4 separate regions of the Homo sapiens genome follow, and regions 1, 2 and 3 are each linked to region 4. Evidence: promoter capture Hi-C in human tissues and cell types (Jung and others, 2019). All regions are on one chromosome and are shown on one strand. Each heading gives the region's core, a stretch centred on a gene start or on the middle of the fragment in contact. The rest is flanking DNA. Distances are from core to core; before and after follow the strand shown.

What was found. The method cuts DNA at HindIII sites, captures the fragments that hold promoters and counts their contacts. A contact is called where the count stands out against the background at its distance.
Region 1: a contact is called between the fragment with the promoter of PRAME here and the fragment with the promoter of GNAZ in region 4, in 2 of the 25 tissues and cell types used here (H1 embryonic stem cells and lymphoblastoid cells).
Region 2: a contact is called between a fragment that was not itself captured here and the fragment with the promoter of GNAZ in region 4, in 1 of the 25 tissues and cell types used here (lymphoblastoid cells).
Region 3: a contact is called between a fragment that was not itself captured here and the fragment with the promoter of GNAZ in region 4, in 2 of the 25 tissues and cell types used here (IMR-90 fibroblasts and lymphoblastoid cells).

What each region holds. Positions count from the first base shown.
Region 1 is chr22:22,555,743-22,563,429 of GRCh38, forward strand. It overlaps PRAME (PRAME nuclear receptor transcriptional regulator), which reads right to left and starts at 3,523. Exons shown (of 6, transcript NM_206956.3): 1 at 3,229-3,523; 2 at 1,803-1,838; 3 at 1,070-1,167. The coding sequence starts at 1,090. LL22NC03-63E9.3 (a long non-coding RNA gene) reads left to right here and starts at 3,601. Exons shown (of 3, transcript NR_027426.2): 1 at 3,601-3,665; 2 at 7,121-7,230. It also overlaps IGL. RefSeq lists an enhancer at 3,440-3,734. The HindIII fragment of the contact is 17,569 bases long and covers 1-7,687 here.
Region 2 is chr22:22,794,803-22,801,855 of GRCh38, forward strand. It overlaps IGL. Among named protein-coding and RNA genes, the nearest start is that of MIR650, 24 kb to the right of the region's middle. The HindIII fragment of the contact is 4,650 bases long and covers 2,155-6,804 here.
Region 3 is chr22:23,413,755-23,421,312 of GRCh38, forward strand. No RefSeq gene overlaps it. Among named protein-coding and RNA genes, the nearest start is that of LINC01659, 16 kb to the right of the region's middle. RefSeq lists an enhancer at 2,586-3,220. The HindIII fragment of the contact is 3,719 bases long and covers 289-4,007 here.
Region 4 is chr22:23,069,256-23,076,340 of GRCh38, forward strand. GNAZ (G protein subunit alpha z) reads left to right here and starts at 1,264. Exons shown (of 3, transcript NM_002073.4): 1 at 1,264-1,315. The region is part of intron 4 of RSPH14 (radial spoke head 14 homolog); the gene reads right to left. RefSeq lists silencers at 939-1,078, 1,219-1,358 and enhancers at 1,965-2,845, 2,846-3,727. The HindIII fragment of the contact is 23,611 bases long and covers 1-7,085 here.

The DNA.
Region 1 (7,687 bases), core at 2,273-4,772, 510 kb before region 4:
ACCCAGGTTGCATGTTCTCCCTGATCTCCCCAGGTGGCACCCAAGGATGAGGCAGTGCAATCTTGTTGCTCACTTCCCAGGACCGACACTTACCCCTAATGGCCCAAGCCCATGGGGCAGTGAGATCAAAGCCTCCTGGAGCTCATACTCTCTGACACCACTGGAAGTGTGGGCTTTTGCGTCTGATTACCCCGGGGAAAGGTTCTGAATGTAATCGTGGCTTTGGCAATAAGGTCCACAATGCATTAAGATTTTTTTTTTTTTTTTGGAGGAGGAGTTTCACTCTTGTTGCCCAGGCTAGAGTGCACTGGCACCATCTTGGCTCACTGCAACCTCCACCTCCTGGGTTCAAGCGATTCTCCTGCTCCTGTCTCAGCCTCCCAAGTAGCTGGGACTACAGATGTGGGCCACCACGCCCAGCTAATTTTTTTTCTATTTTTAGTAAAGACAGGATTTCACCATTTTGGCCAGGCTAGTCTCGAACTCCTGACCTCAGGTGATCTGCCCACCTCGGCCTCCCATGGTACTGGGATTGGGATTACATGCATGAGCCACCATGCCTGGCCTAGGGTTAATTTTTATTTTTGGAGACGGAGTCTCGCTCTGTCGCCAGGCTGGAGTGCAGTGGCATGATCTTGGCTTACTGCAACCTTCGCCTCCTGGGTTCAAGCGATTCTCCTGCCTCAGCCACTTGAGTAGCTGGGACTACAGGTGCATGCCACCACGCCCGGCTAACTTTCTGTACTTTTAGTAGACGCGGGGTTTCACAGTGTTAGCCAGGAATGGTCTCAATCTCCTGACCTGGTGATCCGCCCGCCTCAGCCTCCCAAAGTGCTGGGATTACAGGCATGAGCCACCGTGCCCGACCCTAGGGTTGACTCTCATACAAAGACAGCACGGGAAGTGAAATGCTCTTTTGTGGAAATGACCAGAAACAATAAAAGCGGCTCCTGCCTCTTCGTCTACTGTGAGGGACCTCAGGATGCAGCTCCCATCTGGCTCGAGTGACAAGGACAGAGGGGAACAGGGCTTCTCTGAGCACCTCAGACAGCTCAGGGGACCTTCTTACCCACAAACGCCTTCGTTCCATTTTGAAGCGACTTAGGCTGGCCTCAGGACCTCCAACGCTTGGATTTCTAGGTCTCAGTCACTTGTTGCCACGCACGTCTGAGAGTAATAATCAAAATGCTCCAAAAAGAAGAATACATGTATAATATTTACGAAGCAACGGCCTCCTGTGAAAACCTCCGCAAATACTGCTGAGGAAACTGACAACTGGCGACTCAATCCCGCCCTTTCAGTGCAAATCTCTGGCTCCAAACCTGAGCACCAGTGTTTCCTGGGCTGAACCAGGGGGCAGGAGGAACAACAGACCATGTGGTTGGTCACAAGTGACCCCTGTGGTCAAGGACCCTGACTACGGTCTTGCAGCGACATTTCTGCCTCTGCTCCCGCCTTCCTAGGACGCCTACGCCACTGCCTGGGCCGTCCCCAACCCCCAGCACCTTCAGAGGGGCCGAGTCCCAGAGCATCCACCGCATTACAAATGCGCACCCACCCTGGAGAGCTCCAACCACGAGCACCGCCGCCTCGGTTCAAGGCATCCTTACAGCCACAACTCCTCAACTGGGGCCAATTTTCCGGGGCAGGCGGCCCGGGGTGACCCAAGTGGCGCACATTATTTTCTTTGGTCTTCAACCCATTTCCAGAGAGAAAACAGGGACCCGGGACAGGGGTGGTGCTGGGGGCACAAGCCCAAGGTCACCCTGCGGGGAAGCGGAGGAATCAGGGCTCGAACTTACGTTTTTCCTCAGAGAGTTCACCACACCGCGAAGTTGCTGGAAGGAAAGAACGAGACAATGGCTCAGCTAAGCGCCCTAGCCGCTGCGTGGGGCGGGGGGGGCGGCGGTGGGGACCGGGGGGCTGGGCAGCCTGGTCTGACCAATCCCCGTTTCTCAGTCCTTCCAGGGCAAAATCTCACGAGATCCAGTGAGGTCGCCCAGAGAGTCGAGAGGGGCTTGTTTTCAAAGACTGGGAGGAGGAGGGGCAGTGGGGGAGGGGCAGTGGGGGGAGGAGCAGAGGAGAAGGGAGCAGGAGGAGGGGAAAAGGGGAGAGGAAGTTGGAGAGCAGAGGAGGCTGGGGGTGGGGAGGAGATGGGGGTGGGGAAGGAGGGGAGATGGGGGTGGGGAAGGGGGGGCGGGAGGAGGGTTAGGAATGGGGGAAGGAAGACAGGGTGGGGGAGGGGTGGGCATGGGGGAAGGAAGACAGGGTGGGGGAGGGGTGGGCATGGGGAAAGGGAGACAGGGTGGGGGAGGGGTGGGCATGGGGGAAGGGAGACAGGGTGGGGGAGGGGTGGGCATGCGGGAAGGGAGACAGGGTGGGGAACCGAGAAGAAAGACAGTGGGGGGGGATGGAGGAAGGAACACAGGGTGGGGTGGGGGGTCGGGATGGGGGAAGGGAAACAAAGAGTGGTGGAGGCGTGGGGATTAGGAACGGAGACAGAGGGTGGGGGAGGGGTGGGGTGGGGGAAGGGAGACAGGGTGGGGGAGGGGTGAGGATGGCGGAAGGTAGACAAGGCGGGGGAGGGGTGGGGATGGGGGAAGGGAGACAGAAGGGGGGGAGGGGTGGGGATGGGGGAAGGGAGACAGAAGGCGGGCCAGGGCGGGAATGGGGGAAGGGAAACAGGGTGGGGGTGGGGATGAGAGAAGACAGAGGTTGGGGGAGGGGTGGGGATGTGTAAGAAAAACAAAGGGTTGGGGAGGGGGAGGGAAAAGAGGCAGAGAGTGGGGGAGGGGGTGGGGATGTGGAAAGAAAGTCAGAAGGTGGGGGGTGAGGGGTGGGGATGGGTGAATACGTGATGGCTGCGGCCTTTCCCACCAGACAGTAGGGTGGGGGCAGGGTGGAAAAAGGGGGTGCGGTGGGCGAATGGAGAGGCAGTGGGGAGGCGGGGGGCTGACTGGGAGTGTGGGACGGGGTGTTCTGGGATCACGGAGACGTCCAAGTCTGGACTCTGTCCTGGGTCTGTGCTTCTGGCGACCTCCCTTTTCTTCAGTGGGATGCGGGGTGCAGGGGCCGGTTCCAGGGTCCCCTGAGCTCAAGTTCTCGCCCCACCCCGCCCCGCAAGTCTAGAAAAGATGCCCCTGGCCTTGGCTGGGTAATCTCTGGATTTACCTACTTCTGTAACCCCCCGGGCTGAAGAGACCACCCCCCGGGATTCAATTAACTTACTCTCTGGAGCGCGCGTTCCTCCCTGCTCCCGGGAGTCGGTTTCCCAGAACTTTCTGAGGCCCGCGCATGCTCCCCTCGACTCCCCGTGTTTCCACTCTCCACAGAAATCCACGCATTCACGCCCCTCCCCTCCCCCGAGCCTGCAGAGGACTCCGCCCTGCTTTCCCTACATTCAGGGCTGCTCCTTTTGTCGCCAATACAGACCTGTTGACAGGTCACGCCTGGGAAGCGGGTGGGGTGTCCCGGAGCGGTGCTGAGGCGCTGCAGGCCCGGCTTCTGGCTGCGGGGGAGCTGTACCCTGAAGCCTCGCCGGAACTCGCGTCTGGGGCCAGCAGGGGGCACTAGAGTCAACAGGGACTGTATGCAAAACCCACTTCCTCCCAGGCCCTCTAGGGGGATGGTCAGGCTTCTGCAGAGATGGGGAGGATCCTTTCCTGGTAAGGGGAGAGGGACGGGCTAGGAGCCAAGCGGAAGGACCCCGTGTTCAAGGCCCTTCAAGGGACGGGACAGGCGAGGAATCTCTTTGAGTCTTTTGAATTGTTTTATCAGTCAGGCCTGGGAAGTACTCCGCCTCCACAAACTCTGTTTTCCTGAAAGGGGTCGGGGGGGGGGACCCCAACATCTCCTGCCACAGGCTATGATGGGCATGGTGGCTAAGAGCAACAGGCCGCGTGGTGAGGCTGGCTTTTTGTGGCTCTGCCCTGCCATTCCCCGAGGCATCCCCATGCCAGTGAACAGAGCTGCGGGTTCCCAGCTGCACAGATGAATGCACGAACAAAACATAGGTCCATGCAAAGGAAGTCATTGCATTGATCCAGATTCGACCTGGGATTGTCGCATAAAACAGGGCTGATAAAAACCGTTGTGTTTTCACCTTCGAAACAGAGACTCAGCCTCCCCCTCTCTGCTTGAGGCATTCAGCAAAGGTTCGTCCTTGAGTGGCTGTGGATGCTCAAGGACTTACGATTTCTGACTTTATAAAGTTTAGGGTGAAAACAAAAAACAAAATAAGAAGACCATTGTTTTAAAGTGGCCGTTGTAGCTAATTATCTCAAGAAAGCAAACAGGCTGGTACTGAAAGTTACACAGGCGGGCGGCTCCCTGGGAGGGTTGCCCAGCTCTCCTTTTCTGAGACCTGAGCAGGGAGCAGCCAGAGGAGCTTGAAGGGATGGTGTTCAGGGCATGGGAACAGGCTGCACACATCTTCACGGAGTACGGTGCTTGTCCAGTTTGAGAAGGGAAAGAAACTGGGGCAGAGGGCTGATGAGAAGGCAGCAGATGGATAGTGCGGGATTGAAAAGGGGATCCATTTGAAGACTGGCCACCATTATTTATTTTCATCATCTGATTGCTGTTGCTCCATTGAGATCGATGCGTGGAGAACAAGTTGGGGAGTGGAACAAATGGCAGGGAGGGGAGAGAAGTGAGTGAACATGACCCTGGTCCAGCCTCATAGGACAGAGCGTGGTCATGAAGTCCACAGAGGAGGACAGGTAGGGAGGAATCATGGCATGGCCAGGTTGTAGGGCAAGAGGCAGAGAGGAGAGAGGATTGTGGAGGATGCCTGCGGAGTGCCGACTGTCAGTCGAGGCTGGTCCTTTATTTATTTATTTTTTTTTTTGAGACGGAGTCTCGCTCTTGCCCAGGCTGGAGTGCAGTGGCGCGATCTCGGCTCACTGCAAGCTCCGCCTCCCGGGTTCATGCCATTCTCTCGCCTCAGCCTCCCAAGTAGCTGGGACTACAGGTGCCCGCTACCATGCCTGGCTAATTTTTTTGTTTTTAATAGAGACAGGGTTTCACCGTGTTAGCCAGGATGGTCTTGATCTCCTGACCTCATGATCCGCCCACCTCGGCCTCCCAAAGTGCTGGGATTGCAGGCATCAGCCACTGTGCCTGGCCAAGGCTGGTCCTTTCTTTTATGGCGATGGGTGTTTGAAAGTTGCACATACCAAAATAAACTCACTATTTGTTGACCCAAAGTAAAACCCTGAGGGTATGAAAGGGAAGGGCTCATGCTTACATGGCTGAGATAAAAGCTGTCTCAGGAAGCTGGGTGTGGTGGCTCACCCCTGTAATCCCAGCACTTTGGGAGGCCAAGGTTGGAGGATCCCCTGAGGCCAGGAATTGAAGACTAGCCTGAGTGATATAGCAAGACCCCATCTATATTTTTAAAAAGGGTTGGCTGTCTCGGGACTTTTCGAAATAGCCCTGCAAGACATTCCTGTTTTGGAATCACAACAATTTAGATAAGATGCTTTTGAAAGAACACCTGCCTAGGCACAGCGTCTCCACCAATGAACTGATGCCAACTGTGGTTTTGAGTCTTCATAACCGGTGAACTGTTTGCAAGCAGCTTATTTAAATCTCTTTTTTTGCCAATACAACCTTCCCTTTGCCCTCCCCTCTTGAGATGCATATATGGCTTGCCATAGCTGAGCATCTTAGGTTATAATGCTTTTTCTCTTTTTTAATTTTTTTTTGTAAATTTATATTTATTTTTATATTTATTTATTTTTTGAGACAGGGTCTTGCTTTGTCACCCAGGCTGGAGTGTAGTGCATAATCGTAGTTCACCACTGCCTCCAACTCTCGGGCTCAAGCAGTCCTCCCACCTCAGCCTCCTGAGTAGCTAAGACAACAGGCATGCACCACCATGCCCAGCTAATTTATGTATTTACTTTATTAAAAATTTTTTTTTTTTGGTAGAGAGAGTCTCACTGTGTTTCCCAGGCTGGGCTTGAACTCCAGGCCTCAAGTGTTGCTCCCAACTCGACTTCCCAAAGTGCTGGGATTACAGGCATGAGCCACCATGCCCAGCGTATAATTTTGTATTCTAATTCCTGAATAAATTCAACAAATTTGGAGGTGTTTTTTGTCTGATGGTTCCTTTTGGTCGACAACTGGAATGGGAGAGGAACAGTGTGAGGGCAAACATCAAGTGCTTTGCTGAGCTCCGGGTGCTTTTTTTGGATAAGACACAGAAAATACAATAAGATGTCTGTAATGTTTGATTTTTTTCCAGGTTTCTTGAGGTATAATTGACAAATAAAAATTGTATGGATTCAAGGTGTACAATTCATATACATTGATCCACATATACCTTGTTTGATGATTAATCAAATTAGTTAACACATCTTTCACCCCAGCAGTCAATGTGTGTGTGCTCTGTTAGCAAATTTCAATTAATAATATAGCATTATTAACTATAGTTACTATGCTGTATATTAGAGTCTCAGGATTTACCATCTTATAACTAAAATTTTGTAGCCTTTGACCAACATCTCTCATTCCTCCCACCCACAGCCCCTGGGAACTACCATTCTACTCTGCCTCTATGAGTTCCACTTTTTGTGTTTCTTTTTTCCCTTTCCTTTAATTTTTTTTGTATTTGTTATATTACCAAACCATGTCAAAAGAGTTCCACTTTTTAGATTCCACATATTATTAGCTCGTACAGTATTTGTCTTTCTGCATCTGGCTTATTTCACTTAACATAATTTCCTCCAGGTTCATTCGTATTGTTGCAAATGGCAAGATTCCCTTCTTTTTTATGACTGATGATGTCTGTCTGCAATATTTGAAAAAAAAATGCAGATCACGTGAATGATTGTCTAATGTAATTCTATTCATGTAAAATTGTGTATGACCATAACAGTCACTCATTCATTGCTTCGAGTTCTTTACAATCGGATGCCATATTCCTGGGGCTCTGCTAGGCCTGAAATGGGGAGTAGGAGTTACAAGGTTCCTGGGATATCAGTAATTCATATTTGTGAATGTCTTAGATAAGTGGGCTAACATGTACAGAAAATGGTCACTAAAATGATAACACTGTTTGTTATAAAATACTTTTCTGTATTCTCTTGAACTTTTTTTTTTTATCATTTATTAGACTGCTTCAGCTGCCATAACAAAATATCACAGACTGGATGGATTAAACAACAAAAATTTATTTCTCACAGTTCTGGAGGCTGGGAAGTCCAAGATCAAGGTGTCAGCAAGGTGGGTGTCATTCTGAGGCATCTTCTCTTAGCTTATAGGCTGAGGCCATTTTGCGTTGTGCTCACGTGACCCCTTTGTGCGCATGTGTGGAGAGAGAGCATGGGTGCTTCTTCTTATAAGGATGCTGAAAGTTATGAGAACCCGACCCTTGTGACTTCACTTAATCTTAATTACTTCCTTAGAGGCCCCATCTCCATATACAGCCACAATGGGGATTAGGGCTTCAACATATGAATTTGTGGTGGGGGGACGCAAACACTCAGTTCATAAACATATGATTTTTTTTTCCTTGATCGGCAATGAAAATAGAGGTATCTTCATTTTGGAAAGTGAGAGTCAACCTGTGCTGAATTAGAGTGATGACAAGAGATACTTTAAGACTGCAATGAGGGAAGCAAGGGACGGGGACGCATTTGACAGTCTGTTCTGCTCTGCTCCTGGAAGTGAGAGAGGCTGA
Region 2 (7,053 bases), core at 3,230-5,729, 270 kb before region 4:
ACCAGAAGCAATTTGCCTTCAACTGGCAAAGCCAGCAATATACCTTTACTGTCCTACCTCAGAGATTTATCAACTCTCCAGCTTTGTGTCATAATCTTGTTTTTTTTTTCTTTTGAGACAGAGTCTCGCTCTGTCACCAGGCTGGAGTGCAGTGGTGCAATCTCAGCTCACTGCAACCTCTGCCTCCTGGATTCAAGCAATTCTCCTGCCTCAACCTCCTCAGTAGCTGGGGCTACACGCGCGCACCACCACGCCCAGCTAATTTTTGTAATTTTAGTAGAGACGGGGTTTCACCATGTTGGCCAGGATGGTCCCAATCTCTTGACCTCGTGATCTGAACGCTTCTGCCTCCCAAAGTGCTGGGATTACAGACCTGAGCCACCATGCCCAGCCCTTTGTGTCATAATCTTATTCAAAGAGATCTTGATCACTTTTCACTTCTGCAAGATAGCACACTCGTCCATTACATTGATGACATTATTGGATTGGATTCAGTGAGCAAGAATTCACAAACACAATGGACTTATCGGTGAGACATTTGCATGCCAGAGAATTTGAAATAAATCTGACTAAAATTCAGGGACCTTCTACCTCAGTAAAATTTCTACGGGCCAAGTGGTGTGGGGCCTGTTGAGATATTCCTTCTAAGGTAAAGGATACGTTCCTGCATTTGGCTCCTCCTACAACCAAGAAAGAGGCGCAACGCCTAGTGGGCCTATTTGGATTTTGGAAGCAACACATTCCTCATTTGGTTGTGTTACTCTGGCCCATTTATTGAATGACCCTAAAGGCTGCCAGTTTTGAGTGGGTTCCAGAAGAAGAGAAAGCTCTACAACAGGTCCAGGCTGCTGTGCAAGCTGCTCTGCCACTTGGGCCATATAACCCAGCAGATCCAATGGTGCTTGAGGTGTCAGTGGCAGATAGCAATGCTGTTTGGAGCCTTTGGCAAGCTCCCATAGGTGAATCACAGTGCGGTCCTCCAGGATTTTGGAGCAAGGCCCTGCCATCCTCTACAGATAACTACTCTGCTTTTGAGAGACAGCTGTTGGCCTGTTACTGGGCTTTGGTGGTAACTGAACATTGACTATGAGTCATAAAGTCACCATGGGACCTGAACTGCCTGTCATGAACTGGGTTCTTTCTGATCAATGTAGCCATAAAATGGGTCATGCACAGCAGCATTCCATCATCAAATGGAAGTGGTATATACATCATCAGGCTCGAGTAGGCCCTGAAGGCACAAGAAAATTACATGAAGAAGTGGCTCAAATGCCCATGGTCTCCACTCTTCCCCCCTGCTTTCTCTCCCCCAGCCTGCACCGATGGCCTCATGGGGAGTTCCCTATGATCAGCTGACAGAGGAAGAGAAGACTAGGGCCTGGATCACAGATGGTTCTGCAAGATATGCAGGCACCACCTGAAAGTGGACAGCTGTAGCACTAAAGCCCCTTTCTAGAACATCCCTGAAGAACAGCGGGGAAGGGAAATCTTCTCCGTGGACAGAACTTTGAGCCGTGCCACTGGGTGTGCACTTTGCATGGAAGGATTTTAGCCAACTACATTCTAAAGGTTATTGCCACAACTTTGATCTTAAATAACAGTGCAGCGAACATCCCTGCATCCCTGCATGGAAGGAATGCCATTTCCCATAAATCACCAAATCACTCAGAATGACTACGCATAAGCCCTTAATATACGCCAGATGCATTGGTTATTGTTTTACAAGCGGGACCTCAAGAAGACTTTCATAATACGGAATAGGATGATGCAAAGCCCTATGCTCAAGGCCCGATCTTTACTAGAAAACTAGTATTGGGAGGTTACATGTTTTCCCCAAACAGATCTTTGAGGAATCCCGCAGATGCCAAAGACCTGCTGGCCTAAGAGTAGACACTTATTTTCTCACAGTTCTGAAGCTGGAGAGCCAAGATAAAGGTGTTTATAGGTTTGGTTTCCCCTGAGGCCTCTCTCCTTGGCTTGCAGGTTGCTGCCTCCTTGCTGTGTCCTCACATGGTCTTTCCTCTGCACACTCATTTCTGGTGTCTCACTTCTGCGAATGCAAATTTTTATTAGCCTGGGTTAATAATTTTTATATCAGCCTGGCAGATTCTATCACTGATTTACTTGATTATCCTATTTACTTGATTATTAAACTCCTTCTCTGCTGAGGTCACCCATTGGTGAGCACTCGCATGGGATACAAATATCTTCACAGTTTTTGATCACTCAGAGGGATCCATCCACATAGCTCTTCCCCAAATTTCTTTGTCATCAATTTTCCAATCATGCTTCTTCCAAGTCCCTGATCATCCAACCAAACCATTGGCTACAGCCTATGAATCAGTATAAAATTGCATATCTGGACATTTCTCCTTCCAGGCAGTGCTGAGAAAAGTGGACATCCACATGCAGAACAATGAAACTGGACCCATCTCTCTCCAAATAAAAAATCAGCCCAACAAGGATTACAAACCTAAGGATAAGACCTGAAGCTATAAAACAACTAGAAGGGAACATAGATAAAATTCTTCAGGACCTTGGGATACACAAAAATTTTTATGACTAAGACTTCAAAAGAACAGACAACAAAAATAAAAATAGACAAATGGGAGTTTATTCAACTAAAATGCTTCTGCAAAGCAAACAACAGATTGAAGACACCCTTAGAATGGGAGAAAGTATTCATGTGAATAGGTCCTAATATCCTGTTCATCTGAAAAGGCATAATATCCAGTGTAAGAATAGAGGACAAGGCTCTAAAATAACTGATTAGCATTAAAAAAAAAAAAAGTGGGCAAAGGACCTGAATAGACTTTTCTCTAAAGAAGACATACAAATGGCAAACAGGTATGTGAAAAAATGCTTAAGGTGACTAATAATCAGGGAAATGCTAACTAAAACCCAAATGAGATATCATCTCACCGCTGCTGGAATGACTATCATCAAAACATAACAAGGCTAGGCGCGGTGGCTCACGCCTGTAATCCCAGCAGTTTGGGAGGCCGAGGCGGGCGGATCAAGTGGTCAGGAGATCGAGACCATCCTGGCTAACATGGTGAAACCCCATCTCTACTAAAAATACAAAAAATTAGCTGGGCATGGTGGTGGGCACCTGTAGTCCCAGCTACTTGGGAGGCTGAGGCAGAAGAATGGCATGAACCCGGGAGGTGGAGCTTGCAGTGAGCCAAGATCGCACCACTGCACTCCAGCCTGGGCGACAGAGCGAGACTCCGTCTCAAGAAAAAACCTAACAAACACCCGTGACGATGAAGAGAAAATAGAAGAAAAAATCACATGACTGTCTCAACAGTCAGATCAAATGTTTTCTTTCAAGGAAACATTTTTGTTGGTTGTTTTTTCTAGTCTTGTTAGAGCATCACGCATGATAAGATTTGTGGTACAGAAGTTAGAGGGGATGTTGTTCCATGCAAAATATCTGAATATCCCATACCCAACTCTTCGGTTACTTACTGATAAATGCTAAAAGGTTACAATTTTGTATTTTCAAATATTCTGGTGGCCAGAAACCTCTTCCTTGACAAGTCTGGAGTACAGGTATCTGACTCCAGATGATTAGAATTTAGGCAGGTATTGTGTGAGCAGTGAGGTCACACACAGGAAACGTTCCAGTCAAAGAGAAAAACAGACGGAGGCTGAAACACAGAGATCATATGTCTGAGAAATAAGGAAATTCCATACTAATGGGAGCTGAGTGAGAACAAGATATGAACCATCTATTTCTCTCTGAATATCTCATTGGGATCTTGTCCCTTTCCCAGCATACCACTCATGTGGATTTTAAAATTGTCTGCTCTTAAAACATTTCTTGCACATCATTAGAGAGTCCAGCACTGGAATCAAGCTCAGTTTGATGAGACCAGGGCAGTTAAGCACCAAACCCAGGTGTTCTTAGAAGGGCTTGTAGAAGACAAAGGTGTGTTGTCAAAAGCAGAGAAAGTGAGACTTTCCATTGTGGTTTAAACCACAGCTTCTGGAATTTCATTGGGCACACAAATCCCCTGAGGATTCTGGTTAAGATACAGCTGTGCCCTCAGCACATCTGGGTATGGCCCCAGATTCTCCATGTCTAGCAGCTTCCAGGTGAGGCTGATGCTGCTGGTCCTCCAAGGACATTTTGAGTGGCTTAGCTCCTATTCACCCTCCTCACGCAGGCACAGGTAAGACTCACCTAATGAAGAAACCTGAGAAGCACAGGTGAACTCTCCCTCCCCTCCTGGTGTCTTAGTACCTTTTGTGTTGCTATAAAGGAATACCTGAAGCTGGATAGTTTGTAAAGAAAAAAAAGGGTTTATTGGGGTCATGCTTCTGATGGCTGGAAAGATCAAGATTGGGTATCTGCGTCTAGTGAGGGCCTCAGGCTGTCTCCACTCATGATAGAAGGTGAAGGGAAGCCGGTCTGTGCAGAGATCACTGGGAGAGAGAAAGCAAGCTTTTTTTCCTAACAAAGCTGCAGGGATGTAATTGAGTCATATTCATAAAGTGCTCAATACAGGGCGTAACATATTCAAGTGCTCCTTAGTGGACAGCAATTATTACTGACCTTGCTCATGAAAATTAGACCTCAGATGGAGGAAAGGCAGTGCCGAGGGTTTTAGATTGTTCGAAATAAGAGAGATTAAAATGATTTAAAATAGAGGCCCAGGAGCTGAGGCAAGCATCCCCAGGTGTTCTCCTGCCAACTCCCCCCCATGTCTCAGAAGCTGTTTTCAGGCAAGTCAGCCAGGGAGGAAAGTGGGGGAGTTTGTAGAACCAAGGATTGCAACTTCATCCATGAGGAGGAGGTGTAGCCAGCCAGGTGGGGAGAGGCTGCTAAGCTCATCTGAAGGCTGTTGAAGGCTTTCTGGCCCCATGGTCCTGGGCCATCCCTCCCTGCCCAGGGCCGCATTCCTCAGCTGACAGCCACAACCTTGAGAGAGGCCTGTGAGTCTGATCAGAAATCCTGCCAGGGCCCCGAGGGGGCAGGCATGGAAGGGAGGTGTCTAAGGTCACAGGAGACACTATTTGCTGCCTGTGGGGCTGGGACAGGCTCCTTGAGAGGAAATTCGGGCACTGTACGGGAGGAAAACACAGGACAGGGAGGCCTCTCCCCAAAGGATTGTGATGATAGAGACCAAAGCATCTGCAAAGAGCCCAGCCCTACAGGGGATTCTCTGAACACAGCATTCCTCGGGGCGTCTGTGTTATTTTGCCAGGGTTACCATAATAAAGTAGCACAGACTGGATGCTCAGAGAAAAGAAATGTCTTCTCCACTAATCTGTAGGTGATGTTAGAATCTGAGATCAAGGTGTTGGCAGGGTTGGTTTCTTCTGAGGCTGAGCGAGGGCCTGTTCTGTGCATCTCCCTGGCTTCAGGTGCTTCTGGAAGGATGTGCTGTTCCCTGAATTACAGACAAACACCCCAATCTCTGCCTCCATGTTCATATGGCATTTTCCCTATGTGTGTCTCTGACCATGTTTCCTCGGTTTTTTGTTTGTTTGTTTTTTGCTGTTGTTGTTTTGTTTTGAGATCGAATCTCGCTCTGTCGCCCAGGCTGGAGTGCAGTGGCATGACCTTGGCTCACTGCAACCTCTGCCTCCCAGGTTCAAGTGATTCTCCTGCCTCAGCCTCCCAAGTAGCTGGGATTACAGATGCCTGCCACCACCTTCAGCTAATTTTCATATTTTTAGTAAAGATGGGGTTTCATCAGGTTGGCCAGGTTGGTCTCGAATTCCTGACCTCAGGTGATCCACCTGCCTCAGCCTCCCAAAGTGCTGGGATTACAAGCCTGAGCCACTGCATTCAGCCATTTCCCCCTTTTATAACAACACCGCTCCTGTTGGATTGGGAGCCCACTCTACTTCAGTATGATGTCATGTTAACCCATTACATCTGTAACCACCCCATTCCCATATAAGATCCCATTTTGAGGTTCTGGGGCTGAGGACTTCAATATCAATTCGGCGGGGGGGAGCCTACAATGTAAATTTGTAACATTGTCTCTGTCATGGGCCAGCTGTCAATATTCCCTGAATATCCAGGATCCACCCATGCTCTCTGGCCATCACCAGAGTGAGCAAATCCCTGACACATGGATAAGAGTTGCTTCCATGGGCTCCCAGCCAGGCTGGAAATTCTTGATTCATGGAATCAAGAATCTTTCTCCAGTGGGTGGGGCTAAATGCAGCTGCCTCCCTGACAGTCTCCCTGGGACACTAGGCTTATCAGCTTTTCTCCTAAAGCTGCAGGTCCTGACTGTCCTGAGCCCCAGCTCTGCTGTGGTCTTTGCATCTTAAGATCTTATTCAACTCGCTTTTGTGCCTCAGTGGACTGACTTACAGGAAAACAGTGGGAGATGCCCCTGCTCTCTCTCCCCAGGGTCTCCTCCCCTCAGTGGCACAAGACCTGCCCTATTGACTGGCAGTCCCCCCATGCCCATCTCAACCTCCACACTGCCCACTGTGCACGGTCACAGGTCACAAACTGATTGTTCACTTTGGGCAGATCACCTTGACAGTTTCTGCAGAACTGGGTGCTTCTTCCCAGAATCAGGAATTTACAAACAAGGCCAGTTCTAGAGATGCAACTGGGAGAGTAATGTGCATCACAGCGAATCTGGACAAGACAAAGTGGTTTTGCTGTAGTTCTCCTGGAACACATTCTGGTGATGTGTCCATCTCCCAGGATAGTCTTAGCAAGTTACATCCAATGCTGCATCAGGACCCACAAGAAAAGGAACTGGCCTGCATGAGTGGCCGGCAGGGTCCTGGGAGGAGACCCTGAGATGCCCAGTGACAGGAGGAGTGGATTCTTAGGTTGGTAAGCGTGTGGAGGAACTGCGAGTGATGTGCTCAGCCAGGTACAGGAGCAGGCGTATTGGTGACCTGTGGCCTCATCTTATCTCAGTTGTCTCTTTAGACCAAACTCCAGGAAATCAGCACATAGAGACTTCTGTCTGTCTCCGAGATCATCGCAGGACTTCACACGTCTTTTCTATTTATAATACAACATCATGTTGTGATTGAATTACTTTCATCACAGCCTCAACAGTCCTA
Region 3 (7,558 bases), core at 898-3,397, 350 kb after region 4:
TTGCACACTTAATAGATTACACTGTAGTGTAAACATAACATGTATATGCACTGGGAAACAAAAACATTGTGTAACTGAGTTTACTTCCATATTTGCTTTGATTGTGGGAGTCTGGAACTGAACCCGCAATATCTCCCAGGAATGCCTGTCTTTTCTCCTGGTCTGTACTTTTTCATTTCATCCTCTTAAGCTAAGTGTTTCATGGAGCCTAGGTTTTAAATGTTGATGAATTCTGATGTATCCATATTTGTATGGGTCATGCTTTTGGTGTCAAGTCTCAAATCTCTACCTAGTTGTAGGGCTCCATTTTTTCTCTTGGAATTTCTCCCCTAAAGTTTTATAGTTTTATGTTTAACATGCAAGTGACCCATTTTCAGTTAATGTTTGTATGAGCGAGGTGAAGTGCATTTCATTGAACAGTTTGTCATCAACATTTACCTTATTTTAAAAAACCCACAAATTCATGGTATTTCATTGTTTGGATGCACTGGGACTTATTGAACTAGGCCCCTCTCAATGCCTATGGTTTCTTCTTCCTTTTTTGTTATTATAGTAAGTAATGCAACATCCATTTTGTTGTTTTGTGTGTGTGTTTTTGTGGAGATGGAGTCTCAGTATGTTGCCTAAAACTCCTGGCCTCAAGCGATCCTTCTGCCTCCTCCTAAAGCACTAGGGTTACAGGTGGGAGCCACCACACTTGCCTGAGAACGATATTCTCATCACAAATATATTTGCACAAATGCGCCCCCACACCTGTTTGTTGTCATTCGACTCGGTCATGCAGTAGGCAAAGATAAATTGTTTGAACTTTATGTGGTCAGGCTATTTCTTTGATGGCTTCTGGGCTTTGTTTTATGATTTAGAAAGACCTGCATTCTTTGGAGTGGAGGAATTAAATGGAATTAAAAGTGTCACATCCATGTTTCTGCAACGCCTTTTGTGGTCTGTTTTCCAGATCTACCACCGCTCGGAGCCCTGGAGCTGCTGGCGCAGCCCAAGGAGGTCCTGGAGGGGCACCCCGGCCTCCGCGCCCCTGGGAAAGGTCCCCACCCCTCTGGAGCTTGGGCCCTGCTGGTACAGACCGGGAGTCCCGAGGGGAGTCGGTCCCCTTCCTGGCAGCCGTCCCTGGTGAGGAACGGAAGTCGCAGGGACTGCATGTAAAAATGTCCCAAGTACCCCTTCTCCTGCTGGGTTGCACCGTGCCTGGCGGTGGCCGCTGGGAACTCCAAGGCTGACACCCGCTATGGGTGCTGGACGCCCTCCGTCGCCCCGGGCCGAGAACACCACCTGAGGTGGATCTCTTGTTCTCGTAGCTGGGACCACAGGCGAAGCCACCGCGCCGGCCTCTGCACCCATTTCTTGTGCAGTCCTCTGACCCCGTGAGGTGGTCAGGGAGGATGGCCCGGGCCTCCTGGTCCTGGTTAGCACAGCAGGGCACTGCCAGGCTGGCTCACTGTCCATGGCAGGAGGGTGCAAGATGCAAGGCGGCAGACGGGTGGCCCGTAGGTGGGAGGGGGAAGGCCCGTGGGCAGGGACTGGTCTGTGTAGCCCGGCTGGCTGTGCTCCACCTGCTCCAGCCACAGCCTGGAGCACCTGGGCCCAGGTTCCTCCCCAACGCAGGCAGCCTCGCCAAGGCCTCTGTGGACGTGCCCTCCCCACTGAACGCACAAGGTATCCTCTGCTCTCCCAAGTGAAGCGGGGTCAGGCCAGGATAGGAGGTGGACGGAAGAGCGCTTGGAAATACGGGGCCCTGTAGGCATCTTACTGCTCTTGACAGCCAGACCCTCTCTCTCCTCTTGCAGTAGGACTCGGCCCAGCACTCTCCAAATGCAGCCAGCCCCTCCGCCCCAGCCCAGCACCATCCCTCCCACTCCCCCGGACTGTATGCAAACACACTGGCACACAGCAGCTTCGGCCTCTTCAGCCAGCTGACCCAGAGAAGACCCGTCCACAGCACTGACCCACACCTCACTACTCCCTGACACCGTCCCAGACCACACCCTCCTCCAACCCAGTCACTCACTTGGTGAGCAAAGATGGCCTGCTTTGCCCCAGGTCCTGCTCAAAACGCTTAGGAATCCATCAGAGAACAAAACAAACAGGGTTTCTGACTTCATGAAGCTTCCATTTTTGTGGAAGAAGACGGACAACAGAAGCTGTATTTATTAAACACTTACATAACATAGCACTGACTCCATGGCAGGTGTTATGCTACGCATTTTATAAATACAAATTCATTTGATCCTCATGAAAATTCTGAGTTAGGTATTGTTCATATAAATAAGGAAACCAAGGCAAAGGGGTTAAACAATCCACCCAAAGCCACACGAGTAGCAAGTGGTGAAGCCACAACTCAACCCCAGGCAGCCTGGCTCCAGAGCCCAGGCCCTCCACCTCTCAGTAAGCATGAGTGAGCAACACAGCATGCTAGAGGGTGAGTGCCCCGGAAAAATGGAGAGTAAAGCAGAGTAAAGGGAATCCGGAGCACGGAGGGAAGGAGACACACTGACATTTTAAACTGGGAGGCATGAGGATTCCCAGAGGAGCTGACATCTGAGCAAAGGCATGCAATGCAAGGGTTGAGGGAGTCTGCATGCAATATTGCAGGAAAGAGTGTTTCAGGGAGGGGGAGTCTGTCCCACAGTCCTGAGGCAGGGTGTGCCTGGAGCATGGGAGGAAGGTCCGGCCAGGGAGGGGACAGCCCCTGCCTTTTGTGCAGCAGAATGCCCGAGCGTGCTGCGTGCCCAATTCCCTGCCTCCCTGGTGGGCCGTGCTGCTCTTTCAGTACTCACCTTGACTTCCAAAGTGAACAGTGAACTTAGAGAACAGAGCCCATGACCTCTACTCCCTCTGCTTGTCCCTGGTACTTTCAAGCTGATGTTTGCTGGATCTGTCTGCCTTGCCTTGTGGATTCCACAAAACTACAAGGTCCAGGAGGATGAGCAGGTCCTGCCAGGGAAGCTTCTGACACCTCTGTCACTGGTCCTCCTACACTAGTGGTGAGCAGTAGCCTCTGCCTGGGGCGGGGAAGCAGCAGTAAGTAAAGGGCACTTGTATTCTGTATTTTCAAAGCATGCCTGCCCAATTCTATATTCAAATTTTATTCCCAGTAGGACCCTTTAAACTGGCAGGCAGCCAATTCCACCCTACTTGACAAATGGCAAAACCACCCACCTCGGCCTCTCAAAGTGCTGGGATTACAGGCGTGAGCACCGTGCCCAGCCTCAAGAATGACTCTCAAGAGGTGAGTAAAGACCGGGCTGGGCGTGGTGGCTCATGCCTGTAATCCCAGCACTTTGAGAGGCCAAGGTAGGCAGATCACCTGAGGTCAGGAGTTCAAGACCAGCCTGGCCAAGATGGTGAAATTCTGTCTCTACTAAAAATACAAAAATTAGCCAGACATGGTGGCACACGCCTGTAGTCCCAGCTACTGGGGAGGCTAAGGCAAGAGAATTGCTTGAACCTGGGAGGCAGAGGTTGCAGTGAGACAAGATGGTGCCACTGCACTCAAACCTGGGCAACAGAGCGAGACTCTGTCTCAAAAAAAAAAAAAAAGAAAGAAAGAAAAGAAAAAGAAAAAAGAAAAAAAAAAGGTAAGTAATGACCGAACAGTACAGGGTCCCAATCCCATCTAAGTAGGCTTAAGGCAAAGACTGAGCATTTACTTAAGTCACAGAGAATTTAGCTAAACGCAGTGAGTCACCCACTTCACACAGAGAAAAATGCATCCCTCTACTCCTGTCTCATCACACGCAGAATGCCCAGATTTCTTTCCCATAGTTCCCCTTGAACTATGCAGGCTACTCATAAGGAATTAAGAAATATGCATCAGACACTTCCCTATTTCTAGTTTCAGTCTTCAAAGTAGCCAAAAGAAAATGCCTTTTTGTCCTACATCAGAAATGGTAGGACACCTCTTTCCTCCCATTTATTTCCAAAGTAGATTACACCAATTTAATTCCATTTTATTTTCCAGAATAAGCATACAAAAAAATCCATCCTGGAAGAACCATTTTCAACTGGGCGTGGTGGCTCACATCTGTAATTTCAATGCTTTGGGAGGCTGAGGCAGGAGAATCATTGAGACTAGGAGTTCGAGGCCAGCCTGGGCAACACAGAGAGACCCCATCTCTACTAAAAATAAAAGAAAAATTGGCCAGGCATAGGGGGGCAGCCACGGAGTCCAAACAGCTCCGCAGAATCTAAAACATTTACCTTCTGGCCTTTTACAGAAAAAAGTTTGCTGACTCCTCCCCAGCTGATCTTGCTTGACTCAGTTCTCCCACCTCCACAAGATTAACTGACCTAAAACTCGACTTCCACCGTCCCTCTGTGTTCAAACCCCCGACAGGTTCCCTGATGCCCATAAAGCCCACACTGTACCCTGACATCCATTCGACCAGGAGAATAAACAAGAAAAGCCCTCAAGGACATGCCTTTGCTCATGCTGTTCTCTGCCTGTCAGGAAGCCCTTCCTGCCTTCCACCGCTAAGCCTGCCGCTGCTTACCTTGCCCTTGCAGTCAGGGCAAGGCTCTGGGAATGCTCCCGGCTCCCTCTGCTCTGCTCCCACAGCTCCCTATACTTACCCTCATCACAGCTCTTACCACACAGCACTGAAATCATCTATTTGTGCGTCTGTCTCGCCAGCTGCAGCAAGATCCCAGAGGGCAAGGAACACATCTTACTTATCTCCCATCACCCATACAGAACCCAGTACAACAGCTCATCAACACTGAACGCAACCCCAGCCTGGCCAGGCTGGCCTCCTTGCTGCCCCTGAATACATGCTGCTCACGCTCAACTCTGAGCCTGCGCTCACCCCAGCACCCCCACATCTCACTTAAGACAATCCGACCATGGCCTGGGCACAGTTCAAATTGCATTTCCTCCCTAGGCCCACAGAAGTCAATAGGGTCGCAGGTTCAAACCCCCAGCTCCTCTCACCCATGTGCCGAGTGCCCTTGCACAAGATGCTTCTGTCTCTGGGTTCTCATCGTAAAGAGGGAATGACTCAGTATCCCCTAACTTGCAGGGCTGACAACGCATATAAAGCTTCTGAACCGACACTTGGCATATAATAGATTTTTAAGAACAGCACACTTGTTTTCCCCAATCACACTGTCTATGCCATCTGGGTGTTTCATCCCTTTTCTTCCCCGTAACTGTTGTGTATATTACCCTGGCTCTCCTGAGGCAGGTTTGTCATGAGCAGAGACACGGTCGTAGTATACTTCCATGAAGCCGCCCCTGCCCTAAAACCCAGGACAACACAACACGTGGAGGAAGGGACCAAAGGATACAACTTTAATAAATAAGTTATTTCAGGTTATTTAGGTTTAAAGAATTGCTAATAAAAAAAAATGCAAAGCCCCAGGGGATCAGGAGTGAGCTAGAGAGCAGGCTTTTGCAGATGTTTTCATACTGATGACAAAGGCAGTTAGAGAGCGGGAGCAAGTGGGTTGAGGAGGGGACCAGCAAGATAGGAAAGAACTCCCCCTTGGAGGTGGTACTGTTCATTCTCACCCATCCAAACACTGCAAAGAAACCTGTGCTGACTCACTGGACAGTCTGGACCCAGCATCCTCCCCTGAAGACTGTCTCTGGATGACAGGAAGCCCCAAGCCTCAGAATTCCATTCCAAGTTTCATGAGCACTAGTCAGTGACAGTACCAGCTGATGTGTGGGGTGCTCACTGGGTGCTTACCACATGCCTGGGAAGATTCTAAATGCTTACGACCATACAAGGTTAGGAGGACTGTTACGCCCTTCATTGCACAGATGAGGAAACTGAGTCTCGGGGGGGATAAGGAACACACTCCCGGTCACACACTCTAGTAACCGGTATAGTACAGCACAGTCTGGTTCCAGAGTCCAAGCTCTTAACCACAACGCAGTTTGAGTGTCTTACTCTGATTTAGCTCCGCCATTTACCAGGTGAGAGATCTCAGGCAAGTCATCTAACCTCACTGCGCCTCATCTTTCAAGTGGGCCTCATATGGGTAACTTTCTAAGACTGTCATGAGGATTGAAGGCAATCATGCCATGACACATATTATGAAGCGGACTCCTGAGAAATCAGTTCCCTCCCACTTTTCCCATATCCCAATATAAGTGAGGTTTTTAGCCAAACCCCTTGACCTCTTTTACTACTAGGAATGATCTACATGCCCTGCTGGATTTTCCTGCCTACTGCCTATGCCTAAGCATTTGGACCTCATAAAAACTTACAAAAATGGCCTGGAGACAAGCAAGAAAGGAAAGCAACTGCACACAGAACTGAGTGGGGCAGCACACCAGAGATGGCCCAGACGGCTCCTGGTGTGCAGATGAATACTGCATGAGCAGAGGTCGGGCCAGCCAGGCCCTGCCAGGACACGCCACAACTGACAGTCCGTGACAGCACCTAGATCCATGTACTGCACCAACAGGCCCAGATGACAGGCCTAGGAGGCTGTAGGCAGAGCCAGGAGCACCTGTGCCTCTGAGCCCGCATGAGTATAAGTGCTGTAGGGGGACAAAGAGGGGCAGGCAGGTTAATGTGACAGGCAGTCATTCCCACCAATGGTGGGATATCAGACTGCCTAAAATGTTGTCTATAGCAAGGTAACTGTTTAAATTCCTATAGAAGGAATTCTGTTGCAAAATTCCTTTACTGTGAAGAATTTAATTTCAAGCCAAGAAGTACAGATACACACTAGTTTATCTTGAAGGTAAATCCACATTTCCATACATCAAGTTTGCTTGAAGGGTAAGAGATACCTTTAAGCCATGAACCCTTCCCCTGGGCTGGTGGTCATGCACAGAGGGAACCTGTCACTAGCAGCATGTAAAAGTGTCCTTCGGGGCCAGGTGCAGTGGCTCACACCTGTAATCCCAGCACTTTGGGAGGTTGAGGTGGGCAGATCACAAGGTCAGGAGTTCGAGGCCAGCCTGGCCAACACAGTGAAACCCCGTCTCTACTGAAAATACAAAAAATTAGCCGGGCATGGTGGTGCGTGCCTGTAGTCCCAGGTACTTGGGAGGCTGAGGCAGAAGAATTGCTTGAACCTGGCAGGTGGAGGTTGCAGTGAGCCGAGATCTAGCCACTGGACTCCAGCCTGGGCGACAGAGCGAGACACCGTCTCAAAAAAAAAAAAAAAAAAAGTGTTCTTCAAGTTAGCAAGTCAGCTCCATTAATATAGCAGGGAGCAGAAGCCAGGTGTTTAACTCATTTCTAGAAGATGTAAGTAATTTCTATTTGAATGGACCTGATCAAACGGATCCAAAGGTCTTAGAAAATAAAAGGTTAAAACCCAAGCAAAACGGTATCTCACTCATCATATCCAGTAGTAAGAAGTCCTATTAGGCCTTTTCCCACAATACATCAGCTTCCAAATACAGCACATGACAAAGAAATACTTCAGGAAGATGGAGGAATGGGGGGCTTGCTACCGTGCTGGCTGATGACATTATTACAAGGCTCCAACCAGCTCCGAGGCCGTGGTAGACACAGCACCGTGGTCCTACGGTTAGAAAGGAGCCCCAGAAGCAGCATGGACAATCTAATGCCCAAATCAT
Region 4 (7,085 bases), core at 14-2,513:
GGCATGATCCACACCTTACAAAGGTGTGAGGTGATAAGGAACGCGTTAGCTGGGAAGGCATTTGCACTTTGTCAGGGATGCTCTAGGATACACAAAGCTTCAGATTTACAAAGATGGAGAAGAGAGACAGGAGCATTCATGTCTTGGCCCTCTGGCTTGAGAGTCTTTTAAGCATGGAACTGAGGGACTCCTGGCCCTGAGGTCCACAGATAGGCTTTGAAATTGAAAACAGAATTTTGCAGCCTGGGTTCAGCTGCGTTTTGCTGAGGGTCTGATGCTTTCCACCAGCTTCCCAAAAGCGCCAATCAGTGGCCTTAACTGAACTGGCTCTCTCACGCTTGTCTGGGCTGGGGGCCAGCTCCTCGGTCCTTCTCCCTTCCTTCCCTCCCAAGGCCACCCTTCCGTGTGCCAGGATTGCCAGGGACGCCAAAGAGCCCCTAGACACTGGGCGGTGGCGGCGGGGGGCGGCGGCAGAGATGACTAATGCTCCCTCCCATCGCTGCACAAACCTCACCGGTGTAAATCGTTAGGGTTTGCATAGGCCTTTCACACGTTCTGAAGGATTGGTGAGACAATCCAGGAAAGCAGGTGCCACTAGCCCCACTTTGCAAACAGAAAGGCTGAGAGAGGTCAGTCGGTTGCCCAAGGACGTAGAGCTCACAAGAGGCCGAACTGGGTTTGAACCCGAGTGGAGAGAAGGCGAGCCGGGACTGGCTGCAGTAAAGAGGGCCAGGACCATGGCTGGGCTCAGGCTTGGTTTCCCGGGCTGCCAGAGGTGGCCCCTGGGGCTCGGCTACCAGGCCTCAGCGCAGCGGAGTCGGTGGAACGCCGGCGCGGGGAGCTCTTGCGGGACTGCGGCGCGCGCGGAGCTGCGACCCCGCCCCTGTCCGTCCCCATTGGGCTACTGGCCCGTCCGTCAGCTGCCTGTGCCCAATGGACAGAGGGCCGGCGCTCGTGGCGGGGCGGAGGTGCCCGGCGCGTGGTGCCCGGCGGGCGCGCGGCACCCCCCCGCCCGCGGTTGGCCTGGCAACGGGCTGCGCTCGCGGCTCCGCCCCCTGCCGGCGGCGGCGCGGCGCGGGGCGGGCGGACCCGCGGACTGGCGGCGGGCGGCGGGCGGCGGGCGGCGCGGGAGGGCGGGCGGAGGGAACCAGGCCGGCCGGAGCGTGTGCGCCGCCCGCGGTCCGGTCACGTCCCCGCGTGGGCGCCGCTGCCCGCGTCGTACGGAACGAGGGCGCCGCGGCCCCGTGCTCGCCGCCCCGCCCCGCCCCGCCCTGCCCGGAGCAGCTCGGCAGATGCTCTGTGCTGCGGCCCGGAGGTGAGTGAGCCGACCCGCGGCCGGCCGCGCGCCGCTGAGCCTCAGGGGTCGGGGGCACGGCCGGGGCATCCACCTTGCCCCCACTTGGGACTCTTCCCAGGCCTTTGTGCCCCGGATCCGCCAGGACGCAGCGTCAGGGATGCCCCTCAGGGGTGGGGGACACCAAGGGCGGGGACGCCTGCGAGGTGGGCAGGGGGCGGCCTCTGGTCGGGCAGGTGCTGGGGGAGGGATGCGCCGCCAAGCCGATGACCCCGCGGGAGGGGGCGGTTGAGGACCCGGGAGGGTGGACAGAGGGCGCCGGGGATGCCGCGCGGGGCCGCCGGGCGCCCCCAAGCAGCGGCTGATGCGGAGCCCGGGCGGGCCAGGCGAGCTGCGGGAGCGGCGCTGAGGCGGGTCTCCCTAGGGGGAGGATCAGGGAGGGGCGGCCGGAGCCGATGCAGGGCCTTGCCTGAAACCGAGGAGAGGGCCCCAGAGGCCTGGGCCCGAGGACCTGGGCCCGCAGACGGACAGCTAGCAGTTCTCGGTCACTGCTCTTGCAGCGAGCAGGTTCCTCACAGGCATTTAGAGGAAGAGATGAGTATCGACCTGCTGCGATTGTAATACGTTCCCGGCTCAATATTTTTTCCCTTAAAAGGCGGTGGGGGTGTTTGGGGGAGGGGAGTGAGGGCCTCAGGGCTGGCGCTCCGTATCCTGCGGGCGATCCGAGGGGGCTCTGCCTTTAGGGCGGTGCTGAGCCTTCCTGGGTGATGATGGCAGGATTCGGCCTAGGCCGAGAATGGGGGCTCCTGTTAACTGAGACAAGAGGATGATGCCAAGCGAGACCAGCGTTCCGCGTAGTCCGTGTTGGGGTGGAGGGACCCGCCTGGTAGAGAGGTCTGTCTTGCTTGGGGAGACAGCTGAGCCCCTGACCGGCTCCTTTCTGCCCAAGTGATTTCCCTGCCCTGGGGATTGAGCTCTCTGGAGAAGGCTCCTTGGCCAAATTCAATTAAGCAAATATTTATTGAGTGGTCACTCCCCCAGAGCTTGACGCTGGGGTGCACCGGGTGGGAGTGGACTGGGCCTGCCCTCCCAGGACTGATTGACCACCGCATAGGGGAAAACGTCTCTACTCGACCAACCCCGCTTGAGTGCAGGTGCAGGGGCCTCGGGAGGGACCTCAGAGTGGTGTCCTGGGCTGGGGGGTCAGGTGAGCTCGTGGGCAACATGACATTTGAACTGGAGCTTGAAGGACATGGGCACAGCTAAGCTGGGCATTGTGGGCAGAGAGGAGAGAATAGACCGAGGCACTTGGGCAGTTAGGTCTGATGGGAGCACTTAGCATGCCTGGGGAGTAGGAGGAGGTATGGCGGGAAAGGCCGGTGGGGGCTGCACGGGGCTGAGGGAGCTGGGAAGTGGAATGACCCCACTGCTGGTTAACTGTGGCTATGGTGGAGACCACGGCTTCCTCATCTGTAAAAGCGAAGCAGTTCCATGACCCCATGAGCTGGGGTGGGCCTGGAGAAGAGCTAGCTTTAAAGACTGGGGAAGGCTCCTTGCAGTCTGAGACTGTGCTTCCAGGCACTTCTCCCTCGGGCACAGCCAGGGCACTGGGTAACCACCCAGGCAACCCCCTTGTTAGGATTGAGTTGCCTGTTTCGGGGATGATGCTTAGCTAGTGACTCTGTGCCTCTGGGATGTGGATGTTTGAGAGCAGTAATCGTGGCAGCCTGGGAGCATCCATCTACGGGGTGCAGTGGGGGTGTGGATGGCCTGGCGGTGCTTGGATAAAATATGCGCCTTGAGCAAGCCTCATTCTCTAGGAATGAGGAGATGCTGGCATCTGGTTTAAAAGTCTTCCTGTGTGTTCCTCTAACTGACGTTGATTTTCTGAGACAGGAGGTGAATAAGACATAATTTCTCCCCCTCGGAAATTGGTGTCACTTTCCCCCCTAAGTCAGCTCCCTCATTTCTGGGGATGTTTTTGCTCTCCCTCTGAAGGGGCTGTTTGTTACTCATCTTTGTAGTGTGCCTACCCTCCCCACCCAACACACACTTGGCTTTGGCCAAGGCCCAGGTTGATGCAGCGAGAACAGGGCCTGCCCTCGTGGGGTGTGCAGTCTGTGCTGAGCAGGGTGAGCTGCTGTGCTCTGTGCCTGTCGCCTGGACTGTTGCAGGGACCTGGCATGTGACTGTGGGTTTGGGACACAGGGAATGGATTCTTCCCTCTGTCCCCAGCCTCTCAGTCCTTTTGTTTTCTAGAATCTCAGGAGGAACCTCAGAGACCTGGAGGCCCCACCAGAGTGGCCAGAACCTGGTGCAGGAGTATGGGTGGGGTCTCAGTCTGGCCCTCAGGAGCTTCTAGAACAATTCCAGGAATTTGCAGGTAACTGGATTGACTTCACAAGGGCTGCCCAGGGCCCCCGCAGAGAGGCCAGTGGGACAGGAATGCTGAATATAGCAATTCAGGAATGCTGAATTTAGTCATCTTGTGTGTGAACACATGTGTGCGGCTTCCTCCCCTGGAGGCAAGGAAGGCAGCCCTGTGCTGTCTGTCCCACGCTAGCCTCAGAATACTTAAGACGGTGTGTGGTGGCAAAGGCACTCTCACTGCTGCTGACCATGGCAGGTGCACGGGCACACTGGAGGAGGCAGGTCAGCATGCTGCTCTCCCGAACCCTCCAGCAAGGAAACCTGGGGTAGCCAAGCCTCTGAGCACCTGTGAGCACTGTGCTTGGCTGGAAGGAGCACAAAGCGAAATGAACAGAGGCGTCAGTGCAGATGCCAAGGGTCAGCCCCAGGCAGAATCCCAGAGCAGAGGCTATGCTGCGGCCTGGGCAGAATGAAGAGGGACGTGGGAGCACCCAGACTGTTGTGGCTCCGGGGTGGTGAGGTGAGCATTCCAGTCTAGGTGGCAGAAGACCTGGAGTCAGGTCCTGGTCCCACCATCCTAGGTCCAGCCCCTTTTTCTCTGAACCTCATTATCCTCATCCATACCCAAAGCCAAGAGTGCCCTGCCCTGTCCCCACACCAGCCCCTGCCACACATTTTGGCCCTTTCGTGCGAACACCGCCAGGGGAGGCGCTTCACAGGATTGAACCAACAGGGACCGCTTGACAGATCCTAGAGCACATAGGAGGAGACATCAGCCCTCTGGACTGAGCCGGAGGAGCAGAACCTCACGCGATTCATCCATTCATTTGTTCAGCTAACATTTACCAGCGCCTGCTGCATGCCAGGCACTGTGCCAGGTGCAGGGGTACAGCAGGGACGTAGCATCCACTCACAGTGCTCACACCAGACGGGCAGGGGTTGACAGTAACACATGTTACTAAGTGCTGCACTGTGGAGAACACTAAAGCAGAAGGTGGGGGACACGAGATGGGGGTGGGGGACTGACACAGTGCCATGCAGAAGTGCTGGGTGAGTGGTGTGGCTGAGCAGGGGAGAGACAGCAGGTGCAAAGGCGCTGAGCAGACACTCCCTGGCCCCTGGAGGCCCCACCAGAGTGGCTGGAACCTGGTGCAGGAGTGTGGGTGGGGTGTCAGGGCCAGGTCCTGCAGGACTCAGTGGGCCCCAATGAGGCAGGAAGACCTTGGCAGGGTTGGAGCAGAGAAGAGACTGGAGCTGCCCTCCCAGGAGGAGCTAATCTACACTTTGAAAAGATCTCTCTGCTGAGGTGGGAAAATAGGCTAGGGTGGGGTAAGGCTGGGGGCCATGAGGGGCTACTGCAACATCCCAGGCAGAGAGGCTGCTGACCCAGGGGTGGGAGCTCTGGAGGCCCTGAGAAATGCAGGTGGGAGATTTGTTTTTTTAAAGCTGCAGCTTTTAAAGGACAGCTGCAGTTTTGGTCTGAACCAGTAGAAAGATGGAGCTGGTATTGGCTGAGAAGCAAGATACAGAAAAACCCATTCTGGAGAGGTGGGGAATTAGGAGGTGGGTCTGAGACCTGGAGAGCCATTGATGGGCACATGTGGCCAGAGGGAGAGCAAGGCTGGAGGTGGCAACCTGGAGCCCCTGGCACTGAGGTGTGTGGCAGGCCGGGGACCACGTGAGGTCACTTAGGGATCAAGGGTAGGTAGGATCAGAAGAGGCTGAGCTGGGCTCCTGGGCCTCCACTGTGGGGAGGATGAGTTGAGAAGCATCGAGAAAGAGAGATTGAGGATTGACGGGCAAGTGAGGTGGAAGCACAGTCACAGTGGCGCCTCGGGAGGCTGGAGAAGAGCGGGTCCCAGAGAGCAGGTCCCCTGTGTCAAGCAGGCAGGGCATGCCCAGGGACTGAGCAATGCAGGCACAGCTGGCCACATGATTTTGGGGGCCCCCATTTGAAAATTATTAAGGGCCTGACATGATGGCGCACACCTGTAATCCTATACTATGGGAGACTGAGGTAGGAGGATCACTTGAAGTCAGGAGTTTGAGACCAGCCTGAGCAACATGTAAGAGCCTGTCTCTACAAAAGTAAAACTAAAATTATGCATTCCAGAACAGCAACAGCAGAGCATTAAAACTGTATGGATGCCCAAGTGAGTGCCCAGGAAGCTGGCTGGTCACAGGGACCTCAAGGATAATATTGGGGATGTAGTGGCCCCTGTGGAGAAGGAAGGCCTGGAGGGTGGGCCCGCAACCTGCCTGCTGCCCAGTCCCCACAGCATTTCTCCTCCCTTCCCTGAGTGGGCGGGTGGGTTGCGTTGGACTTTCAGGGCCGCTGGAGTCAGTCACACCCAGCCTGTGAGCTTCACCTTGGCACCATGGCCCAGGGAACCCAAAGTGAAAACTGCAGCAGGCAATTGCCTGCTGCAATTCTTCACTAAATGTCTTGCTTCTTGCCCCTTGGTCTGTGGACCCTTGGGCAAGAGGCAGCAGGAGGCACATCTTGAGGTTGAGGTTTAGATGGTCCCATCAGCAGGCCCTGGACCTACATGGCCACAGCTTCACACAGCAATGGCTTCTTTGCGTTCATCTCTTTTCCAAAGGAAGCTGCCACATCACAGAGTTTTGAGTTATTTGCTTCTAAATTAAGGTATAACTCTCTTTTAGAGACGTCCCTGGAGAATCCATCAAAAAGTGCTAAGAAGCGAGACTGTTAAAAGCCACAGTGCAGGGAGGGGCCTTACACATAGTGTCAAGCCCGGGGGTGTTCCTTCTAGCAGCCTCCAACCAGAAACACACCCCGTCCCCGAGGGCTCAGCCAGGCCTCTCATGGCCATGGGGGACCGTGGTTGTGGTTAGAGCAAACCTTTCAGGAGACCCTTGGCCCCTGGGATGGAGAGCTGCCAGGACAGAGGTCCCTTTGTGAGGTCTGCCCCTGTGAGTCACGGAGGCCAAGGTCCTTTGTGAGGTCTGCCCCTGTGAGGTCTGCTCCTTTGTGAGGTCTGCCCCTGTGAGTCATGGAGGCCAAGGTCCTCTGAGGTGTGGAGAGTGGACCTCATGTGCCCAGTGCCTTAGTAGGTCTGGGCAGCCCCGCATCTGGGCAGCATGGTCCCTCTCACCCTGGTTGGTCATAGGAAGGGTGGCTGAGGAGGAGGCTGTGCTGGAGGCTGGCATGGCAGTGAGGGCTGGCTCTTAGGCTGTGGCCCTGCTCCAGACAGGGCTGGTGGGGCCTCTATGTAGAACAGCGCCATGTTCCTGACCATGTTTCCTATGCCCTTTCCTGCTGCTATTTTTTTCCCCTTAGCACTCGCCACAGCGTGACCTGCTCCCTATTTGATTCATTCATCGTATGTGTTTGTGTAAGCTCCATGAGGGCAGGGACGTTGCGGAGTCACCATTGAGAATCGCCACCCAGGGAGTC